Linked DNA regions of Homo sapiens: region 2 is linked to region 1. The links are contacts of gene promoters, found by promoter capture Hi-C in blood cells and fetal thymus (Javierre and others, 2016). All regions are on one chromosome and are shown on one strand. Each heading gives the region's core, a stretch centred on a gene start or on the middle of the fragment in contact. The rest is flanking DNA. Distances are from core to core; before and after follow the strand shown.

Region 1 (6,207 bases), core at 2,513-5,012:
TCCAGCCTGGGTGACAGAGTAAGACTGTCTCAAAAAAAAAAAAAAAAAGGGGGGGAGAGAGAGAACTTCCTCTCCCTCTCACCTGAAGTCCCCAAGCTACACAGCAGCTGAGCCAAAGAGAACTCAGAGCCCTTCTCTCCATCATCAGGGTTTTGTGCTATTTCCCGCAATCTAACCAGTCGCACTCAACAAATGACCCCTACCAAGTGTCCCGTCTTCCTGGGGCAATAACACCCACGTCGTCTGAGGTGGGAACAACAGCAACCCATCCACGGCTCTCAAAGGGCCACTCTATCAGGGATATGAAACACTAAGTGGGTTATGCGGCTGCCCTCTAAGTCTGTGGATGTTTTTAATCTTCTTAAAATGCCTCCTCCAAAAGTCACTTGCCAAGGAGGCCACTTCGTAAACACTATGCTGTTTCTCCTGTCACCTCCACCCAAATGGCAAGGGGTTGAAAATGACAATATGACCTGTTAAGCTTCCCTTTCGGCAGGCCCTCTCCTGATTCAGGGTAGAGAAGATTCATTTCCACGAACATTAAAGAGGTCTCCCGGTCCTCTGAAAGTGCCTGATTTCACAAAAGCTTAGCATTTGATACTCGGGGGAAAAGGCCACTAGAAGCACATTTTGAAAGTTTCACATTTAAAAAGATCCTTGTTCATTGATTTTGGTGGGGTAATTAAGCTAATCTAAACAAGGGGACCTTGTCTAGGAGCCGGTGGGGGAGGTGCAGCCGCTCAGGTCCTCTGCATGAAAACCCACTGCAGACGCCTGCTTTTGGGGTCCTCTCACCCCTTCCTTTCTACAAGGCTGCTCTTCGGCTGGGAGGTTTGCTCCCTCTGGTCAAATCTGTTTCCTGGCTCAGGTGGAGACAACCCTTCTGATGGTGTTTCACTAAGTGCGCCTTCGTCAGCATAATCACGCAGTGATGAAAACCTGGGGAACCTAGGAGGCCAGCGAGGAACAGTCCTCACCCATCATTAGCAGGAACGCGGCTTCCAGCATATTCTGCCTCCACAAATTACAGACACGACTCTGCCAGGGGTGTTCCCAAGAAGGGCACTGGCAATTTGGGGTTGTCTGCCACCTACAGTGCTTGTCAGTCACCCTCACTCGGTGCCAGGCCACAAGGCTGTTGGTCACAAACCACCCCAGCCAGCCACTGGGCGTCAGGACCCTCGGGAAGAGCGGGAGAGGGCACTGGGATGCACCACGGTCAGAACGACAATCACAGCCCGAACCCCTGCGCTGCACTCCTCTGTCCTCCCCACCTCTCTCCTGACAACACAGATACAATCCATTCACCACCAAGCAACCTCAAGATTGGCTGAAATACCTTCCTCGGCTCCTTTCCTCCATCGGGAAAGTGGGGAGCTGCCGCTGCCGCAGCCCTCTCCTTCCCTGCAGATCTGCGGGGCGGGCTGGGGCGGGATCTCAGAGCTCACGGAAAGGAGGCAGAATCCGGTTTACAGGCTTGCTCCGCCCCTCCCCCACCCCCCTCCAATAAGCAAAGTTAGAGGGTGTTACAAGCTGCAAGACACACACCTTGGAGCTCACCCAGTCCAATCTCTGATCTGCTTTCACGATGCGACAAGGGCCAAAGCTGCAGCACGCATCTCGGCAGGGCAGCAGGCCACTCCCCCCACGAGGCCCGGGAGGTGGCCCTGGGCAGCCTCCCCACTCCCCGCCCTGTGAACACCTGGGCCAAAAAAACACACCTTTAAATACCCAGTGTGTATTTCAAACACATTTCAAACGATTTGCTTCTTTCCTTTACAGCCACTGCCACAAAAACAATTAGCCTGAACGGGTGTGAAATCCTTGATGTGTAAGACGACCTAGTTCCCCAGCCTCTCTCTAGAAACACATGAGTTCTTTACTGCGCCTGAGTCTCCTCCACCCGGAACCTGCAGGGCTGCCTCTTCTCATCAAGTGGCTTCTGCAAAACCTCTCCCAAGCATTTAAATAATCTCTGCTCGTTCTTTTAACAATAATTCAAACCTAGCAGAAAAGTGAGGACACTATACATTTCTTTTAAGGACAGTGTGTGTTACCTGCTCTGATCCCCATGTGTTACACTCCCTAACCTGTACACCAATACTCCAGCTTTTTGTTTTCTTATTTTTTCCTAAAGCCAGCACAAAATAACAGAAGGATAAGATTCCTACCACATTCTACCTGTCTGCCAATGACACAGGAAGGATGAGACCGTCTGGGGAATGGAAGCGCAGGGCGCTCTCAGTAATGCTGGGCAGATGCAGTGGCTTTTCCCCAGCAGAAATGGGCTTCGATTCAGAATCTACCAGCCCACAAGAATCATCTGACCCCACAACAATTAGTTCAATCACTCATCTGGTAAACCCTCCTCGCTCCGGGTCATAGACTGGAAAAGACAGCCCCCAAAACAGTAATAAAAACGACAAGCCCTGTTTTGCTGGAGTCAGCTGAGGTATCAGATGGGGGTCAGTGGCTAGGTCTGTGAACCTGAAGCCACACTCCATCAGTGACCCGCACTGGAGAGACACAAACACCTCAGGCTCCTTAGGAGGTCAAGCGGCCCTTCCCAGCCCTCCCTAGCCCCCGCCTTCTAGAATCATTCTGAATAGCTAACCAGGAGGCTGGGCCCCGTGTGGATCCGCCTCCGCTGGAAAAGCCGCTGCTGGAAGTGCTCCAATCCAGAGCAGGATACCTGGGGGAGGAACGGGTTAAGCGCAAAGGGGAAAGGGGCAGCGGGTGCTGAGACGCAGAAGGTGCGGGGACTTCTACAGAGCAGGGAATCTGGGCCCGGATGAACTGATGCCCTGGCCTCTTTCCTCCAGGGACAAGGTCGGTCTCAGGAAATCAAGGTATCTTCAAAGGGACACAAGGGAGCGCAGTGCCGATGAGACCGGGGCAGAGCCACAGTCTGGCGGTGCAGGCTGGGGGTCCGAGGCGGGGGACACTGGCTAGCAGTGCTGCCAGGGTCGTGTGTGCACTGGGCAGAGGGAAAGGAGGGGAAGAAGGGAAGGGGAAGAAGGGGAAGAAGGGAGTGTGTTCGGTTGGGAGGACCGGTCCAGACAGAGGGGAGAGGGGGCCACTTCGCGAGTGGTGTATCGCTGGTTGAATTCTCATAAGTTAGAGATAGCAGGCAGGGGTTAGAAGGACAAGACAGGGTCAGGACCAGGAGTTAGAGGCGCCAGGCTCCTCTCTGGGTAGAGAAACCGAGGAACTGGGGGCGGGGAGGACTGATGGGTGCGAAAGCGGGCCGGGTCCAAATGAAGGCGCGCGCCCCGGGGTGGGGGCCGGGGTGGGGGGAATGAGGGAGGCTGCAGGGCTGGGGACCAGGGCAGGTGCAATCCGGAAAGAGGAGGCGGGAAGGAATTGGGGGGCCCTGAGGAGCCAGCGCAAGCCGGGTGGGGGCACGTCCCCTCCCCCGGAGAAGGTGCGGGGCTGGGGCTGCGGCGCGGACCCGACCTGGAGGCCGAGGCTGTGCGGGAGGTGGGGGTGGGGAGGCTGCAGGTGCCCGGCGCCCAGGTGCGAGGTGCAGGGGGCGGCGGGGCAGGCGGCTGCGGGCGGCAGGCCACTCACCTGTCTCCTCCGGCCGGGGCCGCGGGGGCGGCGGGGCGGCCGGGCCGGGCCGGGCAGGGGCTACGGGGGCGCGGAGCCCCGGGCGCACCGGGGTCGGGAGGCGGCTGCGGGTCCGGGCGGGGGCTGCTCCCTCGGCCGGCCGGCCGGGCGGTCAGTCAGCGACGCGGGCGCGGAGAGAGCGCTGCGAGGCTGCGGCCGGCGCGCGGAGACAACGCCGCTTTATCGGGTCGGAAACAGCCGCTCCGCGCCGCTTCCGCTGACGCAGCGCCGGCCCCTGCGCCTCATGACTATGCAGCACCCGCCGCCGCGGGACGGGGATTCGGGGGGCGGGGTCTGCGCCGCGCGCGCTCATTGGCCTCCGCTGCCGCCCACCCCGCCCCCGAACGGCCGCCCCGCCCCCGCCGCGCCCCTGCCCCGCCCCCGCGCGCACCGTGGCTCCCGCCCCCGTCTCGCCATGGCCCCGCCCCCAGCCATAATCCAGCCCCGCCCCCGCCCTCCTCCCGCTACGCCCCCGGCCCCGGCCCCGGCCCCGGCCCCTCCGCACCGAGCGTCCGCCCTCTCTCCCCTAAAGCGCTGGCCCGCAATCCACCCCATCCCTCTCTGCAGCCGCAGGAGGTGGCCCCCGCCTGTCCCCACCTTCTCTCCCCGCTCCTCTCGCCACTCTGTCGCAGAGGGGTCCGGCTAGCCACGAGGCCCCGGCCCCCGGCAGCCCAGCCCCTTGGCAAGCACCCTCCCGCCCCCTCCGCCCCTGCCCGTGGCGCGGCGACATGGGCCCCATCCAGGTGCTGCAGCCCCTCCTCCGCTGCAGGAGAAAACTCTCCTGTTTTCCCCTCCCTGCCACCCTCCGAAGACCTCCTACCTGGTCCCGGACCACGCCCCCGTCCCCAACTCCCCCAACGCCCCGCGCTCTGCGGGTCCCCTCTCCAACCTGGAGAGCGGGGCAGGACGAAGACCCGACCCGGAGCTTCCTGGAGGCTGGGCCTCCCTCTCAGGCTTGGCCCTGGCCAGGGACACTGATCCGTCTCTCCCCACGTGTAGAAGGGCCACAATCCCTAGGGCAGGACTGCTGGGAAACCCCATCAAGACAAGGTCTGGGGAGGCGGCTTTAACAGACAGATGTGATGGGCTGAGGCCAACCCTGTTAACGTCGCAGCCCTGCACCCTTGCCAGGGTTTAAGTTGCTTTGGAGGAATTACTTCATTTCTCAGAACCTTGGCGTCCTCATCTGTAAAATAGAAATCGTAAGATCCATCTCACCTGTTGCTAAAGGAATTTAGAAGTGAAGTGCAGAGCAGAGCCTCCAAGAGCATCGGAAATGGGAAAATCTGACCATATCAAGTGTTGACAAGGAAATGGAGCAACTGGAACTGCCAGACACTGTTGGTGGACATGCAAAGTGGTACAACTTTCAAAATCTTTTTGAAAGGCCTTGATTACCCAGCAATTCTGCTCCTAGATACACACCTAACATTGTGTTTCTGTTGATAGCAGCAGTGTTTATAATTGCCCCAAACTGGAAACTACTGAAATGCTCATCAGCCGTTAAATGGATACATAAATTGTGATATATTCACACAGTGGAATGACAGCAATGACAGTGAATAATCAACTACACACAACAACATGGATGACTCTCACAAATGATGTTGAGGAAAAGAAGCCAGAGGATAAAAAGCCATATTTGTTTCCATGTGGATAAAGTGGTAGAAGGTGTATATGGGGGTAGCAGTCAGGATAGTGGTTACCCTTGGAGGGAGGGGTGCCAGAGCCAGGAAGCAGGGCACAGAGGACGTGTCTGGGGGCTGGCTGTGTTCTGTGTCTTGGTCTGAGTGCTGGTTACAGTGTGCTCAGTTTATGATGACTTTTCCAGCTGTGCAGTCAAGATGCATGTGCCTGTGGGGCACGGTGATTCACGCCTGTAATTCTAACACTTTGGAAGGCCAAAGCGGGTGGATTGCTTGAGCCCAGGAGTTTGAGACCAGCCTGAGCAACATGGTAAGACCCTATCTCTATTAAAAAAAAAAAAAGACGTGTGTGTTTTTCCATGTGTATGCAGTATCTCAACAGAGGGTTAGTAAGTACATCAATGGTCTGTAGACAGTCCAAAGCAGCATCAGACACATCATGAGTGCTCAAACTGTACATCTGCTTCCCTGGTGATTTTTCTTTCAATGGCCAAAGGATAGAGGCAGCGGCAATTCCAGGTGTGCTGTGAGCCAACTGTGTGAGCCTGGGCGCCTACTTAACCTCCCTGAGTCCTCTTCTATAAGTGAGCATTCTAATAGTACCTAGTTCACAAGTTGTCCTGAAGCTTAAACAAAATAGCAAAATGATGCTTTTTAAAATGACAATACAATCAAGAGGACAGAACAGGTAAAGACTTTGTTTATTCACAAATTGCTGGTATTGATTGAATTGTCTTCATTGTCATTCATGCAGTAACCAACTACTGAGTGTGTGCCTACTATGTGCCACACGCTTTGCTGGGTCCTAGTACTGGAGCTGGGAACATGATCCCATCTCTCTTCTTAAGGAGTGCATTGTGGGGTATGTACCAGCCATGGTAGCCATGGAGCCCAGTCTAGGATCAGCCTTGTAGTAGGTGCTCCATAAGTATTTCTTGGGGCTGGGCATGGT
Region 2 (6,439 bases), core at 1,769-4,268, 460 kb before region 1:
CCCGAAAACTCCAGCTTTAGTTTGTACCTACTACTTGTCAACTCTTTCACAGTGCAGTCATTCTCTACTAGAATGAAGATTAACAAATAGGAACCACCTCTCATTTACCCTTGCATCCCCAGTATCAACCACAATAGATTCATATGCATCTCCTGAGGTATTGGAACACTGGCACTGTGTTGTACTCTCTTTTTCTATTGTGGATTATACCCAGGTCCAGGAAATTTGCAAGATCCTTCCAAAAAAAAAGACTTCTGAAAGTTGGTTTTTAAAAATTAATTTGTTGGCTAGGCACAGTGGCTCACGCCTGTAATCCCAGCACTTTGGGAGGCCGAGGTGGGTGGATCACCTGAGGTCAGGAGTTCGAGACCAGCCTGGCCAACATGGTGAAACCCCGTCTCTACTAAAAATACAAAAATTAGCTGGGCATGGTGGCAGGCACCTATAATCCCAGGTACTCGGGAGGCTAAGGCGGGAGAATTGCTTGAACCCAGGAGGCGGAGGTTGCAGAGAGCCAAGATCGTGCCATTGCACTCCAGCCTGGGGGCCAACAGTGAGACTTCGTCTCAAAAAAAAACTACGACGGGCCAGGCGCGGTGGCTTATGTCTGTAATCCCAGCACTCTGGGAGGCCAAGGCGGGTAGATCACGAGGTCAGGATATCGAGACCACCCTGGCTAACATAGTGAAACCCCATCTCTACTAAAAAAAAAAAAAAAAAAATTATCCGGGCGTGGTGGCAGGCACCTGTAGTCCCAGCTACTTGGGAGGCTGAGGCAAGAGAATGGCGTGAACGCGGGAGGCGGAGCTTGCAGTGAGCCGTGATCGTGTCACTGCACTCCAGCCTGGGCGACAGAGCGAGACTCCATCTCAAAAAAGAAAAAGAAAAAAAAACTAGGATGGATTTGGACTTCTTTCTTTGTGCAAGTATTGTATTTGTATCAAGGAGTTCCTTCATCATACTCTGCAATAGAATGAATGAAGCACAGGTTTTAATATAAAAACTGTTCACATTTTGTAACAGAAAATATTGATGCTAAATTACTCCATAATGTATTGCATATGTCAACTCAATGATTTGGCTACCACATGAGATTTTGTGTTTTATTGTGGTCTCTTTTGAATATTCTAACAGCTACACAAATTTATCAGTTGGACTCAAATGACCTTGGTAGCAAAGAAAGAGGATGGGGCAGAGGGCAGACAAAGAAAAAACTGACTAGGTTTACTTACTAGCTGGGTGACCAAAAGCAAGTAATTTTACTCTTAGAGCCTAGCTGACTGAGTTTTTGTCAGATACTGTGAAGTATTTTGTATACAGAAGGAACTCAATGGCAGCTCCAAATTAATACTAACTTAATTTTTCCTCTTTCATACCTAAGCTATAAAAATATACAAATGAACAATTACGCTACCTTAATGAGTTATATACTTTTAAACAGTTCAATGTCATTTAACATAGTATTTAACAGTTACACATTCATTGATTTATCAAATGTTTATAAAATGACTATCATGCGCCAGGATATTATAGTGAATAAAACAAACATGGAACTTACACAAAGGTAATGGTAAATTTTCATTTAAAAATAATTACTTTGGATGTTCTATTGAGGATAGACCATAAAGCTATATGACAACAAATGTTTCCATTATCTCTTTTTGTTGTCCATTTATAATGGTTAAGTAACCCCAAATTTTATTAAAAGTAAATGAAGGGGCCAGGCATGGTGGCTCACACCTGTAATCCCAGTACTTTGGGAGGCCAAGGCAGGTGGATCGCTTGAGCTCAGGAGTTCAAGACCAGGCTGGTCAACATGGCAAAAACATCTCTCTACTATAAATACAAAAATTAGGCAGACATGGTGGTGTGCACCTGTAGTCCCAGCTACACGGGAGGCTGAAGAAGGAGAATCGCTTGAACCCGGGAGGCAGAGGTTGCAGTGAGCCGAGATCATGCCACTGCTTTCCAGCGTGGGTGACAGAGAGAGACTTTATCTCAAAAAAAAAAAAAAAAAGGTAGTAAATGAATCTAACTGCATAGCAATCTTTTAAAAGAACATTTGATGTTGAGTGTGTGTGTGCCCGTGTGTGTACTTGGGTGGGAGCACATGCACACATACATGTGTGTGCACACACACAATCTGATTTCTCAAACTTCAAAAATTTGCTTTATTTCTTGGATTTTTTTCATGACATCTTCTAATAAATCTCATCTAAAAGTTTTGAATATCAGGGCATTAGGATTAAAAGTCAATTCTCAATATTAAATTCCCGAAGATAATAAACTGAGCACCTAAAACCCATGCCCTACTGTGTGGTGGATACAACGGTGAAGAAGACAGACTTCTTATTTGCTCTCACTGAATGCACACCCTGTTGGTAGGTACAACAGATTAACGACAGTTAAATATAACGTATAAACAACAGATCAGTGCTTGCTAGAGTTAGGGATGGGACAGCATGTGACTAATAAAGCAACAGGGATTTTCTTTGTGTCCATAGGATAGTTCTGTATCTTGATTATGATGATTACATACATTTGCACCTGTGATAAAACTGCACAGAATTACACACACACACACACTTGAATGTGTGTAAACATTAGTGAAATCTAAATTAGGTTTGCAGTCTAGTTAACAGTATTCTGCCAGTATCAATTTCCTTATTCCTATATTGTATTATATCATGACTGAAGTGGTAATTACTGGACTGTATACAATTGTCAAAACTCACTAAACTGCATACTTAAATTATTTTATTGTATGTAAATTATACCTCAATAAAACAAATTTTGTATTTTAAAATGTGTATATGTTGTATGGGAAATGTACGGGTACTATGCACAGGTAAATGGAAGGCTTTACGTGGAAAGCACCATTTAAATTAAGAGCTGAAGACTGAGCAGAAGTAACCTAATTCCAGGAAAGAAAAGGCAAGTTATACAGGAAAATGTTAACTCAGCGGCAGGTCTGGGATGCTCAAATCCTGTTCATTCCCACGAAAGGCATATTTTTAGGGCTGGCCCTTAGTCTCTTAGAAACTAAACCCCTGAAATGTTCTGTCTGATAAGAGTGCTTCTGCATACCTGAAGACGGCCACAATTTGACCACCAACTGGTGAAAAAACTGGCCACCAATTTGAACCAGATAATTTATGCACACACTGTTTTGATGGTAAACACCTGTTTTCTCTCTAGGGTCTGGAAAGTGAATAAATGAGGTCAGTCACGTAGGCGTTGTATGCCTATGAGACTGACCTCCAACACACACCTTAAACACTCAAGCTCAGGCCAGAGTCTCTGCTTGGCAAACCTTTGCATATGATGTCACACTCTTTTTTTTTTTTAATACTTTAAGTTTTAGGGTACATGTGCACAATATGCAGGTTTGTTACATATGTATACATCTGCCATGTTGGTGTGCTGCACCCATTAACTTGTCATTTACATTACGTATATATCCTAATGCTATCCCTCCCCCCTCCCCCCACCCCACGACAGGCCCCAGTGTGTGATGTTCCCTGCCCTGTGTCCAAGTGTTCTCATTGTTCAATTCCCACCTACGAGGGAGAACATGTGGTGTTTGGTTTTCTGTCCTTGTGATAGTTTGCTGAGAATGATGGTTTCCAGCTTCATCCATGTCCCTACAAAGGACATGAACTCATCCTTTTTTATGGCTGCATAGTATTCCATGGTGTATATGTGCCACATTTTCTTAATCCAGTCTATCACTGATGGACATTTGGGTTGGTTCCAAGTCTCTGCTGTTGTGAATAGTGCCACAGTAAACACACGTGTGCATGAGTGTCACACCCTTTATTAACCATGAGTGCTTCTCCTTCAATTATCAAAAATATACAAGAGTGAAAAAGGGAGAAGAAATGTACACAATTAAATCTTCAAACCACAGAAAATAAACCTTCTAATAAGAGAGTTAGACTACATTACATTTTAGCTTCTGTCTGGAAAAGGGCAGCTGATAATTCCTATACTGAGAATGCCAGGCTTAAACTAAGTTTTACCTCTTAGACCTGCAATTTCAAAATGTATCTTAACGACAGCTTTAAGGCCAAGAAAATATAGAGAAGGAAGTCAATTTCTAATGACACAATTATCTGAAAACTTGTAAAACTACAAAAGAAAACTGGAATAAAAATAAAAGGAAGGTGACCAATAAGAAATAAGTATGCCCTGGCACCTCACATGTTCCTATAGTTAAGTTTAGATTCTATACCATAGAGTTAAGTTACAGTTTTAGACTCAGTATTTTCTTCAACTTCCTATTGCAACTCCTTTTGTCAAGGAAACCACTGATTATTTAATGTCATTTAAAAGTTAATGGGTGGACATACTCATTCTAAGTCTTAAAACATCTGTAGGAGTAAACAATGACAAACTCGTATCAGGCTCAGGCATCTGAAGAGCTGAACATTTCAACAGTGCTAAAAGATTTCTATACAAGTTCAGCATCCTCAATGCAGATTAATATGACTTCTTGACTAAACATGGACACTGGCCTTCAAACTAACAGCCACCATCATTTGCAAAAAGTTGCCAATGAAATACTTATAACTTTAACAAATGAAAGTTGTGAGAGAAAAAATAAACGTTACACGGTAAAGAAAAAAATTTGATTCCGGGGTAAAACAAACTGTTCCTGCTTCCTCATGAGTCATTAGCTTTATTGTCAAACTCATTTTTATAAATTCCTGCTCTATATACTGTTATAACAGTGAATACTGTTATAACAAGATTCTAATTTATTTTTAGAATGTGCTAATTAATATATTTCAGAATATTCACAAATAGGTCAAAATATTTAGTAAGTCATTGAAATTTTCACATTGGTAGTTACATTTAGGCCATCTTTTAATGAAGCTATGTGCATCCTTAATAATTATGTCTAACTAGTAATATAACGCTCAAACACTCATCAGTGTTTTCCTCATGACCCCACCCAAAATGGACTTGGATGAATTTTCAGAATGAGAAATAATAAAATTAGGGGAGTTTATTGTAATCTATTTCCCTCCCTCTCTTCTTTTCATGGGATGGGGTGGTGGTAGAAATAATTTAAACATAATTATTTTATTTCTGCACTGGCTAAACCAAATATATATATGTATGTATAAAATATATGTATTTTTAGAAACTGGGTCTTGCTCTGTCACCCAGGCTGGAGTACAGTGGCACAACCATTTCTCACTGCAGCCCAAACTCAAGCACAAGTGGTCCTTCAGCCTCAGCTTCCCAAAGGGCTGAGATTCCAGGCATGAGCCACTGCATCTGGCCCCATTAAAAATACTGATTCATTTACATAGAAATTAAAAGAGAACACTAAGGAGTGTGTTCACTATGTGCCAGACATTTCTAAGAGCTTTGATATGCTGTTTCACTGAAGACTCACAACAATCCCCTCTGCCCATTTTCTAGACTTAAAAAAAAAGGGGGGGGTCGCCACGTGTGGTGGCTCACGTCAGTAATCCCAGCACTTTGGGAGGCCGAGGCGGGTGGATCACGAGGTCAGGAGATTGAGACCATCCTGGCCAACATGCTGAAACCCCATCTCTACTAAAAATACAAAAAATTAGCCAGGTATGGTGGCGGGCGACTGTAGTCCCAGCTACTCAGGAGGCTGAGGCAGGAGAATCGCCTGAACCCAGGAGGCGGAGGTTGCAGTGAGCCAAGATCACGCCACCACACTCCAGCCTGGACAACAGAGCAAGACTCTGTCTCAAAAAAAACAAAAAAAGAAAACCTAAGATCAGTTAAGAAAATGAACAGACAAGCCACAGACTCAGAGAAAATACTAGCAAAACATAACATGACAAAGGACTAGTATACAAGGTACATGAAAAGTCCTACATTTTAAAATCATAGAGACAGAAAGTAGAATGGTGGTTGCCAGGGGCTGCAAGGAGGACAAATGGGGAAATATTGTCTATAGACTTTCAGTTTTATAAAATGAAAAGAGTTACAGAGAAGGATGGTGGGGATGGTTGTGCAATATTATGAATGTATGTAGCACTGCTGAACTGCACACTTAAAAATGGTTAAGATGGTAAATTTTATGATGGTAAGTGTGTGTTCTACCACAATTTAAAAAAAATTGGGAAGAAAAAGCGTACGATTTTACAATACATATTGTACAAAAAGGTTTAAGCAGATTTTCAAAAAAGGAGACCTACTAACATTCAATATGCACATGGAAGAATAAACAACATAAACAATGATTATTAGTTGGTACCCAGAGAAGTGAACATAAAAACCACCACGATTCAACCACATACCCACCTAGTCAAAAGGCTAAAACAAAACAATGACAACATCAAATGTTGGATAGAATGCAGAGCAACCAGAACTCTCATACATTACTGGAGGAAATATAAAATCACACAACTGTAAAGGATCAAAGGGTAGATACAAATTTCATTTAACA

What was found. The method cuts DNA at HindIII sites, captures the fragments that hold promoters and counts their contacts. A CHiCAGO score of 5 or more calls a contact.
Region 2: a fragment that was not itself captured here is called in contact with the fragment with the promoter of SLC45A4 in region 1 in 1 of 17 cell types (total B cells); the score reaches 5.3 in total B cells.

Annotation. Positions count from the first base shown.
Region 1 is chr8:141,304,526-141,310,732 of GRCh38, forward strand. SLC45A4 (solute carrier family 45 member 4) reads right to left here and starts at 3,763. Exons shown (of 9, transcript NM_001286646.2): 1 at 3,571-3,763. RefSeq lists silencers at 3,639-3,738, 3,759-3,998. The HindIII fragment of the contact is 5,295 bases long and covers 585-5,879 here.
Region 2 is chr8:140,849,859-140,856,297 of GRCh38, forward strand. All of the region lies in intron 5 of PTK2 (protein tyrosine kinase 2), which reads right to left. Among named protein-coding and RNA genes, the nearest start is that of MIR151A, 120 kb to the left of the region's middle. The HindIII fragment of the contact is 8,505 bases long and covers 1-6,439 here.